4 separate regions of the Homo sapiens genome follow, and regions 1, 2 and 4 are each linked to region 3. The links are contacts of gene promoters, found by promoter capture Hi-C in blood cells and fetal thymus (Javierre and others, 2016). All regions are on one chromosome and are shown on one strand. Each heading gives the region's core, a stretch centred on a gene start or on the middle of the fragment in contact. The rest is flanking DNA. Distances are from core to core; before and after follow the strand shown. Region 1 has its middle 71 kb from the start of DAAM1. Region 2 overlaps DAAM1 (dishevelled associated activator of morphogenesis 1). Region 3 holds the start of GPR135 (G protein-coupled receptor 135). Region 4 overlaps LOC107984642 (a long non-coding RNA gene).

Evidence for each region. Contacts are between HindIII fragments. The CHiCAGO score rates a contact against its expected background, and 5 or more counts as called.
Region 1: a contact is called between a fragment that was not itself captured here and the fragment with the promoter of GPR135 in region 3, in 7 of 17 cell types (megakaryocytes, monocytes, endothelial precursors and 4 more). The highest score is 7.8, in megakaryocytes.
Region 2: a fragment that was not itself captured here is called in contact with the fragment with the promoter of GPR135 in region 3 in 1 of 17 cell types (monocytes); the score reaches 5.1 in monocytes.
Region 4: a fragment that was not itself captured here is called in contact with the fragment with the promoter of GPR135 in region 3 in 8 of 17 cell types (total B cells, naive CD4 T cells, fetal thymus and 5 more); the score reaches 6.9 in total B cells.

What each region holds. Positions count from the first base shown.
Region 1 is chr14:59,116,263-59,119,535 of GRCh38, forward strand. No RefSeq gene overlaps it. Among named protein-coding and RNA genes, the nearest start is that of DAAM1, 71 kb to the right of the region's middle. The HindIII fragment of the contact is 2,100 bases long and covers 315-2,414 here.
Region 2 is chr14:59,206,100-59,209,648 of GRCh38, forward strand. The region is part of intron 1 of DAAM1 (dishevelled associated activator of morphogenesis 1); the gene reads left to right. Among named protein-coding and RNA genes, the nearest start is that of DAAM1, 19 kb to the left of the region's middle. The HindIII fragment of the contact is 1,449 bases long and covers 1,397-2,845 here.
Region 3 is chr14:59,463,684-59,467,091 of GRCh38, forward strand. GPR135 (G protein-coupled receptor 135) reads right to left here and starts at 1,697. Exons shown (of 1, transcript NM_022571.6): 1 at 1-1,697. The coding sequence starts at 1,543. The coding sequence ends at 59. It also overlaps a transcript of L3HYPDH not described here. RefSeq lists a silencer at 1,228-1,767. The HindIII fragment of the contact is 8,985 bases long and covers 1-3,407 here.
Region 4 is chr14:59,181,569-59,185,072 of GRCh38, forward strand. LOC107984642 (a long non-coding RNA gene) reads left to right here. Exons shown (of 2, transcript XR_001750928.1): 2 at 2,095-2,679. It also overlaps the pseudogene PPIAP5. Among named protein-coding and RNA genes, the nearest start is that of DAAM1, 5.3 kb to the right of the region's middle. The HindIII fragment of the contact is 1,156 bases long and covers 1,272-2,427 here.

The DNA.
Region 1 (3,273 bases), core at 115-2,614, 350 kb before region 3:
CCAAAATTGAGCCCTAATATAAACTGTGGACTTTGAGTGACTATGACATGTCAGTATAGGTTCATCAATTGTAATAAATGTACCACTCTGGAAGGGGATGTTGATAGTGAGGAAAGTTATGCATGTGTGAGGCAGGGGGTATTAGGAAATCTCTCTACCTTCCTCTTCATTTTGCTTTGAATGTTAAACTGTTCTAAAAAATAAAACCTAAAAAATTGATGAGCGTGTATATTAACCTAAGCATATTGAATCTTTAATGTTTATTTCATTTGTTTATTTATAGAAAATATTATGCATCTCCTTTCAATGACCAAAGCTTTATCCTTTGTTTTGCAGTTATATATAAATGGAAGTCTGTAATTCGATTTTGGGGAAATCAATAAGATCAGCATATGCTGTGATAAATTATTAAATATCATCCACCCCTGCTGACTATACTTTTTCAGTAGATGGCAATATGACCTTTCCTTCTATCTCTGTGATAAAACCATTGGTAAATCCAATAGGCATTTTTAGTCCTTGCTATTTTAAGTTCTCTACAGCATTTGGTCCTTTTGACCACTCCTTCTTATGATATTCTCTCACATCCTTGTCTTTCCAGATGCCACTCCATTTTGGTTCCCCGTGTACCGCTACTGTAATTCCTTCTTCTAAAACTGCTCTTTGTACTTATTTTCCCTCCTTAGTTCAACCTTCAAAATATTTTAGGGTTCCATGCTTAATTCAACTCAATAAGCATTTTTGAGTGTCAAATAATGTGCAAGGCATGAAGGTCAGTACTGTAGATACCAAAATGAATAAGTCATGCAAATCATGGGAGAAGCATACAAAGAAACAAGTATAATCTAACCTCTAAGTGCTACAATAAAAATATGACTCATCCACGGGGTCACAGAGGGTAAAGCAGTAAATTCTGTCCCCTTCTCTCTTTACCCACTCTTCCTAGGTGTTTTAATTGAGTCTTTTCAGTTATAAGAGAGGTTCACAGAGATGATTCAAATAAGGAAGAGTTTGTTTTAATGACACACATGGGCAATAAAGAACAAAGGTGTCTCATAGGAATGAAAGAACAGGGGCGTGCTCTGTCTTCCTGTGCCACATCACTTGTGCTGCATGATGCTTTCTGCTTTCTCACAACTTTAGTTTGCACACAGTCCATAATGGTTCTTTCTCTATCTTGCAGCATCTTGTCAGTTTCAGCAACCTCTACTAATTGCCACATTTACTCAATGTTTATCAGTGTAAACTCCTGATGGGAAAAAAAAAGTCTTGATTGGTCCAGATAATCTTTTTGCACTAGGCTTTGTCAGAAATCACCAGCTAGCCTAAGGATTGAGAACTAAAAATAAAATCCTAAGCCCCCCAACCCACTGAATGGACCCCCTGTTGTCCAAGGGAACCCCAGAGAAACCTTAAAAACTGAGTTCCTGGCCATGATGGGTCAGGAGGTCAGATAAGCCTCATCATACCCTCTCCCTTTTGCAGTTTAGACCCAACAACTTGCCAGCATTAATGTTAAAATAAGGCTGACAGAATGGACTCTTTATGGCAATAAGATACCAAATTCTAAATAGGACCTAAGGCCACACCAGGCAAGGGTTAAGTCATGCACTCCTACACTTAAAGAGTAAACTAGGTTCTAACTGCCACAAGGTTTTTCCTTACTCTGAAGCTAAACAAGCACTGACCTCAAGATAAGCAATATTGAAATAACTGCAGCTCACCCACCATCAGATGCTGACTGACTCCCTGTTTCACAAGCCACAACTACAGCTTCGATTGAACAAGAGACTGATTTCTGTAACTTTCTCCTGATTAGAGACCACCAGCCATGGACTGGCTCTGGCAGGTTTTACAGGCTGTGTACTTGAGTGCCTCCCTGTCTCTGCTTCACATTTGGACATATCTGGCCTAATTGTAATGCATTTAAATGTTAAGTCTCCACCTCAGGGTGAACATGGGTTGTATGTAAAATACATGTTTACTCAACCTGAATATGTATGATGACCCTCATCATGAATATTCATAGCTCCTCTATAACCCATTGAATATGTATACTTGGCCAACCTGTTCGGTATAAATTCCTGTCTCATCTTTCCCTCCCTTGAAGTGCCTGTTTCTGGCCTTTGGCCAGAGGCTATGCTTCCCAGCCTTTCAGAATGGCCACCTTGCAGGCTGTAGCCCTTTATAAGATAGCCTCCTTTCTAAATTTGTAAATTCAGTAATTGCTTTTCTGTTAACAGAATGGAATCCACTTCCAATCCAACCCTCTGTGGTTAGAAGTGGAGATGAACATGTGATAAAGCCCATTTCAATACTGTCCTGCTTGCAAATCCTCAGAGACTTAGAAAAACTCTATTCTCATTAGCATGACCTACAAGGCCCCAAATGATCTGGCCCTGGCCCACCTCTCAAGCTTCATTTCATGATGAAGCTCCTAGACCATGTCAGGTTCTTTCTGCTTAAGGCCCACTGCATATGTTGTTCCTGCCACCTGTATCATGAACTAGAATGTGAGCTCCAGGAGGCAGGGACCTTGTCCATCTTGGTCACCATATAATCACTTATGCCTGGCACAATAAGGACTCAAAAAGTACTTGTCAAGTGAATGTTGAAATAATGGTAGAACAACATTGTCTAAGGCTCACCTCTACAGCGGAGGCTGTGGTTAGGAAGACATAATTCCTGAAGCCTAGGTCATTGGCTGAGCAGACGTCCTCCTGTTTTCCACTGCTAATGTTTTCCACACCTATATATTGTCAGCCGAAGTTCTAGTCTCAATTTCAGACCTGCATTTCCATCTTCCTCTGATCTTCAACTAGACACTCCATGGTGATGTCAGGCCTATTTGTCCCTCAAGCCTGTACCTCTTTCCATATTTCTTCTTTTTTATGGTTTCCCCATTTGGCCACTCACCAAAATCAGAAACCTCATGATCTTTCCTACCTGACCTCACTCACCACTTAAACCAATTCTCTTATAAAACTCTTCTTATTTTCCCTCCTGAAGTAGCTTTCAAACCTGTCCTTCCCTCCCTGATCTCATTTCCATTGCCCTAGTTAAGGCTTCACTGTCTCTCAACTAAAGGACTGGAAGTCTCTTCCTGCTGTTTCCCAGACAATTCCCCCTTTTTGCCTAATCTTAGTCACAACATTGCCATCACAGCAATCTTTTAAAAACATAAATCTGATCCTGATTCTCCCCACCTTAGAAACCTATGTTGATGTCATGGTCAAAATAGTTTACACGGTTTTTCATAACTGGTCCCTGCCT
Region 2 (3,549 bases), core at 871-3,370, 260 kb before region 3:
CACCGTGGCCTCCCAAAGTTGCTGGGATTACCAGCATGAGCTACTGCACCTGGCCCTCAAAGTGTTCTAAACTATGTGCAAATGGAGAACCTGAAGAGATTTTTCCTTAACCTCTCTTGATACATGTAAGATTGTGTAATTCACTTGATCATTCTGGGGCTCAGGTATTTATTTTATTTTATTTTATTTTTTTTGAGACGGAGTCTTGCTCTGTCGCCCAGTCTGGAGTACAGTGGTGCGATCTCGGCTCACTGCAAGCTCCGCCTCCCAGGTTCACGCCATTCTCCTGCCTCAGCCTCCTGTATAGCTGGGACTACAGGTGCCTGCCACCATGCCCGGCTAATTTTTTGTATTTTTAATAGAGACAGGGTTTTACCGTGTTAGCCAGGATGGTCTTGATCTCCTAACCTCGTAATCTGCCTGCTGCGGCCTCCCAAAGTGCTGGGATTACTGGCGTAAGCCACTGAGCCCGGCCAGATATTTCATCTATAAAATAAGATATACTTATCCCACTCTTATTCCAGTGTTTAAAATTAATTGGAAAAAAGATTAGAGTTTCTAGAATGCCGGGTGTAAACAGTAGATACTCTTTAGGATCAAACTATTTTGAGGAGGAAAGTAGTAAGAAATATTGGAAATCAAGTCTACTTTTCTGAAGTTTTGACAAATCAGTTTGTATTATCTTCAGCTACATTTAGCAAAAAATACTCTAGTAGATTTAGGAACTAAAGTAGGGTCTTGACTGGGTTTGTTTTGTTGAATTAGTAAAACTTATTTATCATAGCTTGCATTTGTTTTAAAACATATTTTGATTAATTATTAATTTATTTTTAATCAGTGTTGTGGCCTGTATGCAGGAACTGATCTATTGGTAGATAGTTGGTGCTAAAGAATAATTCTCAAAGAGTTTAAAAATAAGATTCTCAAAATTATAAACACATGCCAACAATTTTAATTCATTAATTAATGAGGGAACCAGTAAGATGTTAAGGGTCGTTCACAGGAGAATTTGAAGAACAGGTATCTATATGTCTGCCTGTGTATCTGTCATCTATCCACAATCAGAAATGCTGAAATAAATTTGCTAGTGTATACAGCACTTGTTAATATTTTCAAGGGCCGTAAAATGCAATGTTTGCTTATCTTTTCTATAGGCATGTAAGGCAATTATATCACTACCAGACAAAATTCATTTGTTTTGCTATGGACAAGAGGCATTACATTACTGTGTGTTTTTGGCAAGTGAGTTTCTGCCTCTACAGAGCTGTGAGATAGTCTAGTCCAACAGGTTCTCAAACTTTTCGATTTCAGGACCCTTTGACTCTATTAAAAATTGAAGATCCCAAAGAGATTTTACTGTGTAATATATTTATCATGTTAGAAATTAGAATTAAGAAGCTTTAAAACTATTAATTTCATTTAAAACATATCAATAATGAAACCTATTTCATGTTATGTGAATGATGACTTCATCGTGGGTATTAAAGCGCCTCAAAAATTCTACTCTATGCTTGTTGAGAGAGTAAGAGTGAAAATGACAACATCCTCGTGTTACAATGAAATTAGTTTTGAACTCACGAACACACTGAAAAGTCCTCTGGCTCTCCAGGACTCCTCAGATCATATTTTGAGAACCACTGGCCTAATTACAAACAAAAAAGTCAAAGATCATCCCTGGAGGGCCTCTTAGACCACAAATCACACTCCATTGAGAGGATACCCAGTAATCTCTTTTGCCCACTTCTAAATCTTGGGTTTTTTCCTGACAGCAGTCCCTTCTCTGAGAAATTTTGCCGTGCCTAGCATGGGGAATTTTCAAGGCCATTCTGAAACTATTAAGTCAGAAACTTATTTTTTGGTTATAATATTAATTTAGGTTCACTGTGGGGAAAAAAACACAGAAAAGTACATAGAAATAGATAAAAATCTTAATGAAGTTTTAAAAATGCTTTTGATTATACATTACCTGCGCTCTTTTGCATTCTGCCCCCAATTAAATGTTGTCATAAGCATTTTTCATGTAATTAAAACTCTTAATAAAACTCTTAGATGACTGCATTTATTTTCATTTTATACATGGTACTGAGAAATAAAAATAAAATCCTAAGCCTCCCAGTTGACCGAATAGACACCCTGTTGTCCAAGGGGACTCCCAGAGAAACCTTAAAAATTGAATTCCTGGCCATGATGGAATGGGAGATTTGACACATCTTAGTATGCCCCTTCCTTATGAGCCTTTAACCAGCATTCCTTCCTAAGGAGTAAGCAGAAGCCAACTCCAGAAAACAAGAAACGAATGAGTCATAACTTCATCGCTTTCAGCCAATCATCTGAGGCCATGGCCGGACTCCCCATCTTTGCAGTTTCGATGTGGCAGCTCACCAGTTTCACATGCATCCCTTCCTAAAAACTGACCACCATCTCTAGGCAGGTTTTGTCCAACTCTCTCAGGAGGTCCAGTGAGGGTTTTCATGTCCTCTGCTTTGCCTTTTGACATCAGAGGGCTGAAAACTCAACCCTCAGATCATGCTAATGCCACTGTTTTTTGAACATATGACCCATGAATAGGCATCAATATCATTTGGATGTTTGTCCCCTCCAAATCTCATGTCGAAATGTAATCCCCAATGTTAGATGTGGGGTCTGGTGGGAGGTGTTTGGGTCATGAGGGTAGATCCCTCATGAATGGCTCAGCACCATCCCCTTGGTGACGAGTGGGTTCTCGCTCAGTTCAGGCAGGATATGGTTGTTTAAAAGAGTTTAGGACCTTCCCCTATCTTTCTCTTGCTCCTTCTCTGGCCATGTGATGTACTGGCTTCCCTCTTCACCTTCTGCTGTGATTGTAAGCTTCCTGGGCCTCACCAGAAGTCCAGCCCTGTTGCTGCCATCCATGTACAGCCTGCAGAACCATGAGCAAATTAAACCTCTCTTCTTTATAAATTATCCAGCCTCAGATATTTCTTTATAACACAAAAAGTCCCAATACAGGCATGAAGCTTAGTTGCGCATGTGCATGTTTCTCCTTTCATAAATATTCAGGACTCCTCCTATAATCTGTTAAATACTTATATTTGACCATCCCTCTTGGCATACATTTCTGTTCTCTTTACTCCTCCCTCCAAGTGCTTGCTGGATGGCACCTTTTATGAGAAATAAAGCTCTCCTTTCCAAATTTATGAACCTTATGATTCTTCAGTTCACAGTACAAGATAACCATTTTTGTTTTTCCATTAAAATTATGAACATCTTTTCCATGTTTTAGATTATTTTCTTAGGATAAATTCATAGAAATAAATGAAACAAAAGGTGCGTAATTTTCGTTTTTCTAAAAGGAAAGATGGTCCCCGACTTACGATGGTTCCACTTGCAGTTTTTTGATATTACCACTGTGGGAAACCAATATGCATTCAGTAGAAATTGTACTTTGAATACCCATACAACCATTCTATTTTTCATTTTCAATATAGTATCTAATAAATTCCATGAGATATTCCACACTTTATTATACAATAGGCTTTGTGTTAGGTAATTTTGCCCAATTGTAGGGTA
Region 3 (3,408 bases), core at 447-2,946:
CCATCATTAAATAATGCGAGTGGAAATTTGCCTTCATAAGCTGGCCATTCCAACCGTCTTAGAGGCTGGTATCCCCAGCTTCGGATTTAGGCTGTTTGGTCACTGCCGTCACCGGCTCTGGTGGTCCCTCTCGGCAGAAAAGTACAACTGGATTTTTGCGGGCCCACATGGCCACGTCCCCTGCCACTCCGCTGGCCGGGTTGGAAGAGGACATCCTGTTGCAGGCCCCCAGCCGGTTGGCATAGCGGTTTCGAAGGCGACTGCGGCTTCTGGCTTGCAGACCCGGGCCCTGGCTGGGCAGGAAAGCGTCCACATTCCTAGTCCGGTAGCCCTCCTCGCGGTTGCGCCCTAGGAGCATCGAAATGTTGGGATTGCGGATGGCGTAGATGACAGGGTTGATGGCCCCATTGGCCCAGGTCAGCCAGACGGCCACCACGCTGAGGAGCGAGGGGGCCTGCATGGTCTGGGCCTGCCGGGCGGCGGCCAGCAGCACCAGGAAGCAGTAGGGCCCCCAGCAGCAGATGACGAAGACGATCATGATGAGGACGGTGGTGGCCGTGCGCACCTCGCTGAAGAAGCGCAGCACGCGCGCGTAGGTGTTCACCGGCCGCACGCGCACGTCCGACAGGCGCACCGTCTTGCAGATGTGGTAGTGGCAGAAGCACATGAGCAGGAAGGGCAGCAGGTAGCAGGCCACCACCAGCCCCACGCTGAAGGCCGCGCCCAGCTGCGCGGGGTCCGGGGAGGTCCGGTAGAGGCAGCCGTGGAAGCTCTGCGCCGCCGCGAGTTCCCGGGGCGCCCCGAGCAGCTCCCAGGGCAAGGAGAAGCCCAGGGCCGTCAGCCAGGCGCCCGCCAGCAGCTGCAGCGCGCGGCGGCGGCCGATCTTCTCCCGCGGCGGCCGCACGATAGCGCAGTAACGGTCCAACGAGATGAGCGCCACGCTGAGCGTGGACACGATGCCGAAGCACGAGCTGAAGAAGCGGCTGGCGGCGCAGAAGCCGCGCCAGGGCCCCGCGGCGGCGGCAGGCGCCGAACCCCCGGGCGGAGTGAAGAGGTCCAGGAAGGCGGCGGGCAGGCAGAGCAGCGCCGTGAGCAGATCCGATAGGGACAGCGACAGGATGAAGGCGTTGGTGACGGTGCGGAGCTGCCGGTGCTTCACAATCACCCCCATCACCGCGCAGTTGCCAAGGCTAGACAGCAGGAAGATGAGCAGGAGGACGAGCGCCTGGGCCGCCACTGCAGCTCCGTGCGACAGCAGCGGCGCCGCCTCCGGGCCTAGCGGCCGCCTCACCGCCGCCCCCGCCTCCCGCGCTGCCCCGGACCCGCCAAGGCCGCCGCCACCGGGAGCGGCAGCTGTGCCGCCTCCGCTTGCGTCGCTCAGGTTCCCCAGCGCCGCGGTCGCCACGGTGCTGAAGGAGAGCACGGCCGCCGTGGCCGCGGAGGAAGTCCCGCCAGGTGGGCCGGCCGCGGAGGGGGCGCCGGAGTGCTGGCTGCCCAGTAAGGCCATGCTCGCTGGTGGGCGGGGCGGCTGCGGCTCCTCCATGGGGCCCAGTGGCGGCCGCGGATCTCCTCATCCCGCACCGGGGGCGGCGGCCGCTAGGTCGGAGTGGTGGCTCGGGGCCGGGGGCTAGCGGCCGCCGCGGGGAGCTGGGCTCGGCCGGAGGGGTGGCGGTCGCTGGGGACCTGGCGGAGCCTTTGACGTGGGTTCCAGCGTTGCCGAGGGAACCGCGTGTTTACGCAGGAGCGCGGGGCGGGACGGCAGCCCAGTACCCGCTGCAAAGCCGACCCGCGACACCGCCACTCCGGAGGTTACCGGCCCGGGTGTTCGGGTTTCCGAGAGTGCCAGGTCGACCTCCTGAGGGACCAATGTCCGGCCAGATAAAGTGCCGACTGGCATGCAAACAAATGACCAGATTCAACGAAAGTTCACTCTTGCTCTCTTTTGTAGGGTACAAATGTTCTACAGGCAGGCCTTTTGGGGAGTGGTGGGGGGGGCACTCTGCTTCCTGTGGGTGCTTTTGGTATATACAGGTAGGAAAGGAATCTAGAAAGTGAAGTGAAAGAAAAATCCAGAAGTCTACATCCAGACATCTTAAACTTGAGAAGCAGACTAATTTAAACCAGTAATTCTCAAACTTGAGCTAACAGAATTCACATAGAGGGCGTGTTAAAATACAAGTGACGAGGTCTGAACCCCAGCGTTTCGAATATGTCTGGGGAAGTACCCAAGAATTTGTATCTCTAACGGGTTCGCGGGTGGTGATGATGATGCTGGTCCCAGGACCACACTTACAGAAGCACTGATGTCAAGAGTTTCATAAAATGCAGATTCCCAGGCTGACAGAATTACTAAGGATGGGCCCATGACTCTAAACCCCGTAGGTGATTCTGATACAGGTGCTCTGAGGAGCTAGGATAGTTCCTTTAGATGTTACTTCATTTCCAAGGGCCTGGACCTCAGGCCCCTACTGGCTGATAAATGGGGGGAGAGGGATTGGTGCCTTGCCCTGCTAGCAGCCTTCATCTGTTCTCAGGAATGGGGTATGTTTTGAGTCTAAGGTGCTGCCAGCCTGGCAATCACCACAGATGCAGCTCCAGGTACCTGGCTGGGAGATACGGGGAAAAGAAAGGCAGGGCTACCCAGGGAAGTTGCATCTCAAGTTTCTGGGCATGGCCTCTAATGGGGAAAAGTGTGATAAACCCTCAGGTTAACTAACCCTGGGCTCTTCGCTAAAGCAGTGGTTCACAGAGTATGGACATTGGACCAGCAGCATCAACATCCCCTGGAAACCTTGAGAAATACAAATTATCAGGCCTACAGTGCATAGGATACCCCTGATCTACTGAAACTCCTGTGGTGGGGCCCAGGCACCTATGTTTTAACAAGCCCTCCCAGTGATTCTGATGCACAAATTTGAGAAACACTGCTCTAAAGAATGACTAGTATATTTGTAGATCTTAGAATCAATGGTATTAGTATTGGAGTGCTTATTTCATTCAGAAAAAATATCCTACAGGAAATTTACAGTATAAATAGAAGAACGTTTAAGGTGGCAAACCAAAACTGGGTTTGTCAGCCTAAGCGTCATGGACTTTTGGGCCAGATAATTCTTTATTGCAGGGGCCATCTATACATTGTATGATGTTCAGCAGCATCCCTAGTTCCTACCTACGAGATGCCAGTAGCACCTCTCCCAGCTGTGACAACTAAAACTGTCTTCAGATATTGCCAAATATCCTCTTGGGAGCAGTCAATGCCAGCTTAATCTAGACTGATTTTGTCTTAATTTTGTCAATCAAAGCAAAAATATAATTATCATACATTAATTTATTTGGCAAACACAATCTTCTCAGATTGTGCTTAGTTTTAGGAAACAACATATAAGATAGGAAACCCAGCCCAAATAA
Region 4 (3,504 bases), core at 600-3,099, 280 kb before region 3:
ATCTTTGACCACTGGAGAGAAAAGAAGTATTCCTGCTTTCACAGAATTATTCCAGGGGTTTTATGCCAGGGTGGTGACTTCATATGCCATAGTGGTACTGACACAAGTCCATCTACGGGGAGAAATTTGAGGATGAGAACTTCATCCTGACACATACAGGTCCTGGCATCTTGTCCATGGCAAATTCTGAACCCAACATCAACAGTTCCAGTCTATCATCTGCACAGCTGGGCCTGAGTGGTTGGATGGCAAGCATGTGGTTTTTTGGCAAGGTAAAGACAGAAGGAATATCTTGGAAGGCACAGAGTGCTTTGGGTCCAGAAATGGCAAGACCAACAAGAAGATCGCCATTGCTAACTGTGGACAACTCTAATAAATTTGGCTTGTGTTTTATCTTAGCCACCACACTGTTCTTTCTGTAGCTCAAGAGAGTATCCCTCCATCCCATCTGTTTGCAATGTCCATTATCTTTGTGCTCTTGTTGCAATTCTTTGGGTTCCATATTTTCCTTATTCTCTAAGTCTAGCTGGATTACAGAGTTAAGTTTATAATTATGAAATAAAAAATAAATAACAAGAACAAATGGTTATCTTCCCAAAATAAAATATCACATAGCACTCAAAATGCTAATGATGTAAAAAAATCCAATGAGAGGGAAGATGGTGGGGAGTGGAGGGAGAAATGTTAATATTTCTCCCTCGTTTGTTGGCTCATGGGTGATTTTTATGGCCTTAAGTAGCAATATTTTCTAAATTCTTTACAAAAGACATGAATAACCATTATAATTAGAAAAATATATTAAAAAACTTGGGTACCAGAATACATAAAACAATTTCTTATGGGAATGATCTTGAGATAATTTGGCCTAGTATTTAATTCATATAAATATTTTATTTTAATATGTATATACATAAGTGGACACAAATCTTAAGTGTACAGCATGATAAATTTTCACAAAATAAAGTAGCCACATAAACAGCACCCAGATAAAAAATACCAGCATCCCAGAGACCTCTCATGTTCTCTTCTATTACTATCCCCTAAAGGTAACTGTTACTCTGTCTTCTAACACTATCAATGGCTTTACCTCTTTAAAAAAATGTTACATAAGTGGAATCATACAGTATATACTCTTTTTACTCAGTGTTTTTTGGTGCGGTTCCTCCTATTTTCACACGTAGACATAGCTTGTTAATTCTCATAGCCAGATAGCACGGGTTGGCAAACTATGGCTTACAGGCTTACAGGCCAGCTGACTGTTTTGTAAATAAAGCTTTATTGGAACACAGCCATACTCATTCCTTTATGTCTACGACTGCTTTCATGCTACAATGGCAGCACTGAGTAACTGTAACAGAGATCATATGGCCCTCAAAGCCTAAAATATTTACTATCTGGCCCCTTACAGAAAAAAGTTTGCCAACCCCTGCGATATAGTATTATGTGCCTATGCCACAATCTATTTATCCACTGTACCGTTGATGAGCAACTGTGTTGATTTTAGTTTGGGGCTATCATGGAGTTGCCAGATTTAGCAAATAAAAATACCTAATGTCTCCTTAAATTTGAATTTCAGACAAACAATAAATATTTTTAGTGTAAGTATATCCCAAATATTGTATGGCAACCCTAGGCTATATGAATACATGTATGAATATATGAATAGCATAACTATGAACATTTGAATAGGTAACTTTTGGTGAACACATATACACAACTCTGTTAGGTATATTGCTAGCAGTGAAATTGCTCAGCCATAAAGGATGTGTATGCTCATGCTTAGCAAATACTAATAAAGATTTTTCCAAAGCAGTTTTACCAGTTTACAGTTTCACTAGCAGTGTAAGATTTGTTTCTTATCTTTGGCAATGCTTAGTATAGTTGGTCCTTTTAATTTTAACCAATGTGATGGGTATGTAGTGGTATCCCATTATAGTCTTAATTTATATTTTCCTGCTGACAAATGAATTTAAGCATTAGTTGGGCTGTCTTTTTCGTGATGGCCAGTGATTTATTATATGTTCTAGCTTCAGTTGGTGAACTAGAACAATTATATATCCTTTCTCTTTGTCTCTTCATTTTCTCTCTCTTCAGAATTTGACTTGGGGAAGAAGAAGAAAAGAAGGTGGATTTCAGCATGAAAGAATCTAAACAGTCATTAGTGAACAAATGTGTAGCAGTGCTGTCCAACAGAACTTTCTGAAGAAGTAATGGGAATACTCTGTATCTGTGATGTCCTGTATGGTAGCCACTGGCCTCACACAGCTCTTGAGCACTTGAAATGTGGCTACTGTGACTGAGTAATTGAGTTTTAAAATTTCATCAATTTTAATTAATTGAAATTTAAATAGCCACATGAGGCCAGTGACTACAGAATTGAACAGCACAGGTCTCACAGATGGACTAAGAGTAAGCCAGTTACGAAGAAGCTTATACAGGAAGACCGGCTAAAATATGTCAAAGGAGAGTTTCTCTTTCTGAACTCCGAGGAGCTGTTCAAATAAGACTGGTCTGGAGAGAGTTTTGGGTGGCTGGAGGTATTTTCACCCCTCCACTTACTGTGCCTAACCTTAGTATTGTTGCCATTCTCACGTTTCTGTATGACTCCATCTCCCTTGTTCTGTTCCGATGCCGCTTTTTCAGTTTTTCTGAGCTCTCAATTAAACACAGTGAAATGAATCTCCTCCAAGTGCCTTTTTAGTGACTAAACTGAATAGTTGGCTCAGAATGCTACAAAGTCCTCTCCCTCAGGAAGAACCAAGTTTTACCATTAAGATCCTGATAGATTTACCAGCTTTAACTGACACCTCTTGGGGTGGCTTCCAGATTCACACTTTCTCCTTTTTGAGAAGACTCCCAGACACACGGGGATAGGTCCTGAGTGATCATATTTGAGCCACACAATCTTGTTACGCTTGCTGTAGATCCATGGTTCAAAAACATTCAAGTGTGTCTGACTCAGCTGGAGGACTTGTGAAGACACATGTGGTGGGACCCATCCCTAAAGCTTCTTTTCCAGTAGGTGTGTAGGTGTGGCCCAAGTATCTGCATATCTAACAAGTTCTCAGGTGATACTGATGTTGCTGGTCTGGGGATTGTACTTTAAGATAATTAAGTCAGGGACTGTTGCCTGACATAGGACAATAAGCTTCTCTCAGGAATTTGAAATTTGGAACAAAGAGCTCGGAGTCTTAGTGCTAGTAGACCAGTGCTCTGGAGAGGTCTGAAAACTACCACTGCTTAGGTTCCTAGTTTGTCCAGTTCCTGTTTGTCTTGAGCCTTGGTTGTCTAATCCTTTGAATAAATCCCATTACATTCTTTGTTTTGCATAAACTGGCCATAGAAAGTTCTTGTTGTCTGCCCCTAAAAGAACTTTAACTAAAGTGTGAGTATGTCAGTTAAAGTGTTCCACCAAAAAAACAGAAACGATTCTAAGTAGTATTTAAAACAGAGATAATGTGGTCCAGAGAATTGGCCATACTGTGATAGAAGATCTGTGAAGCC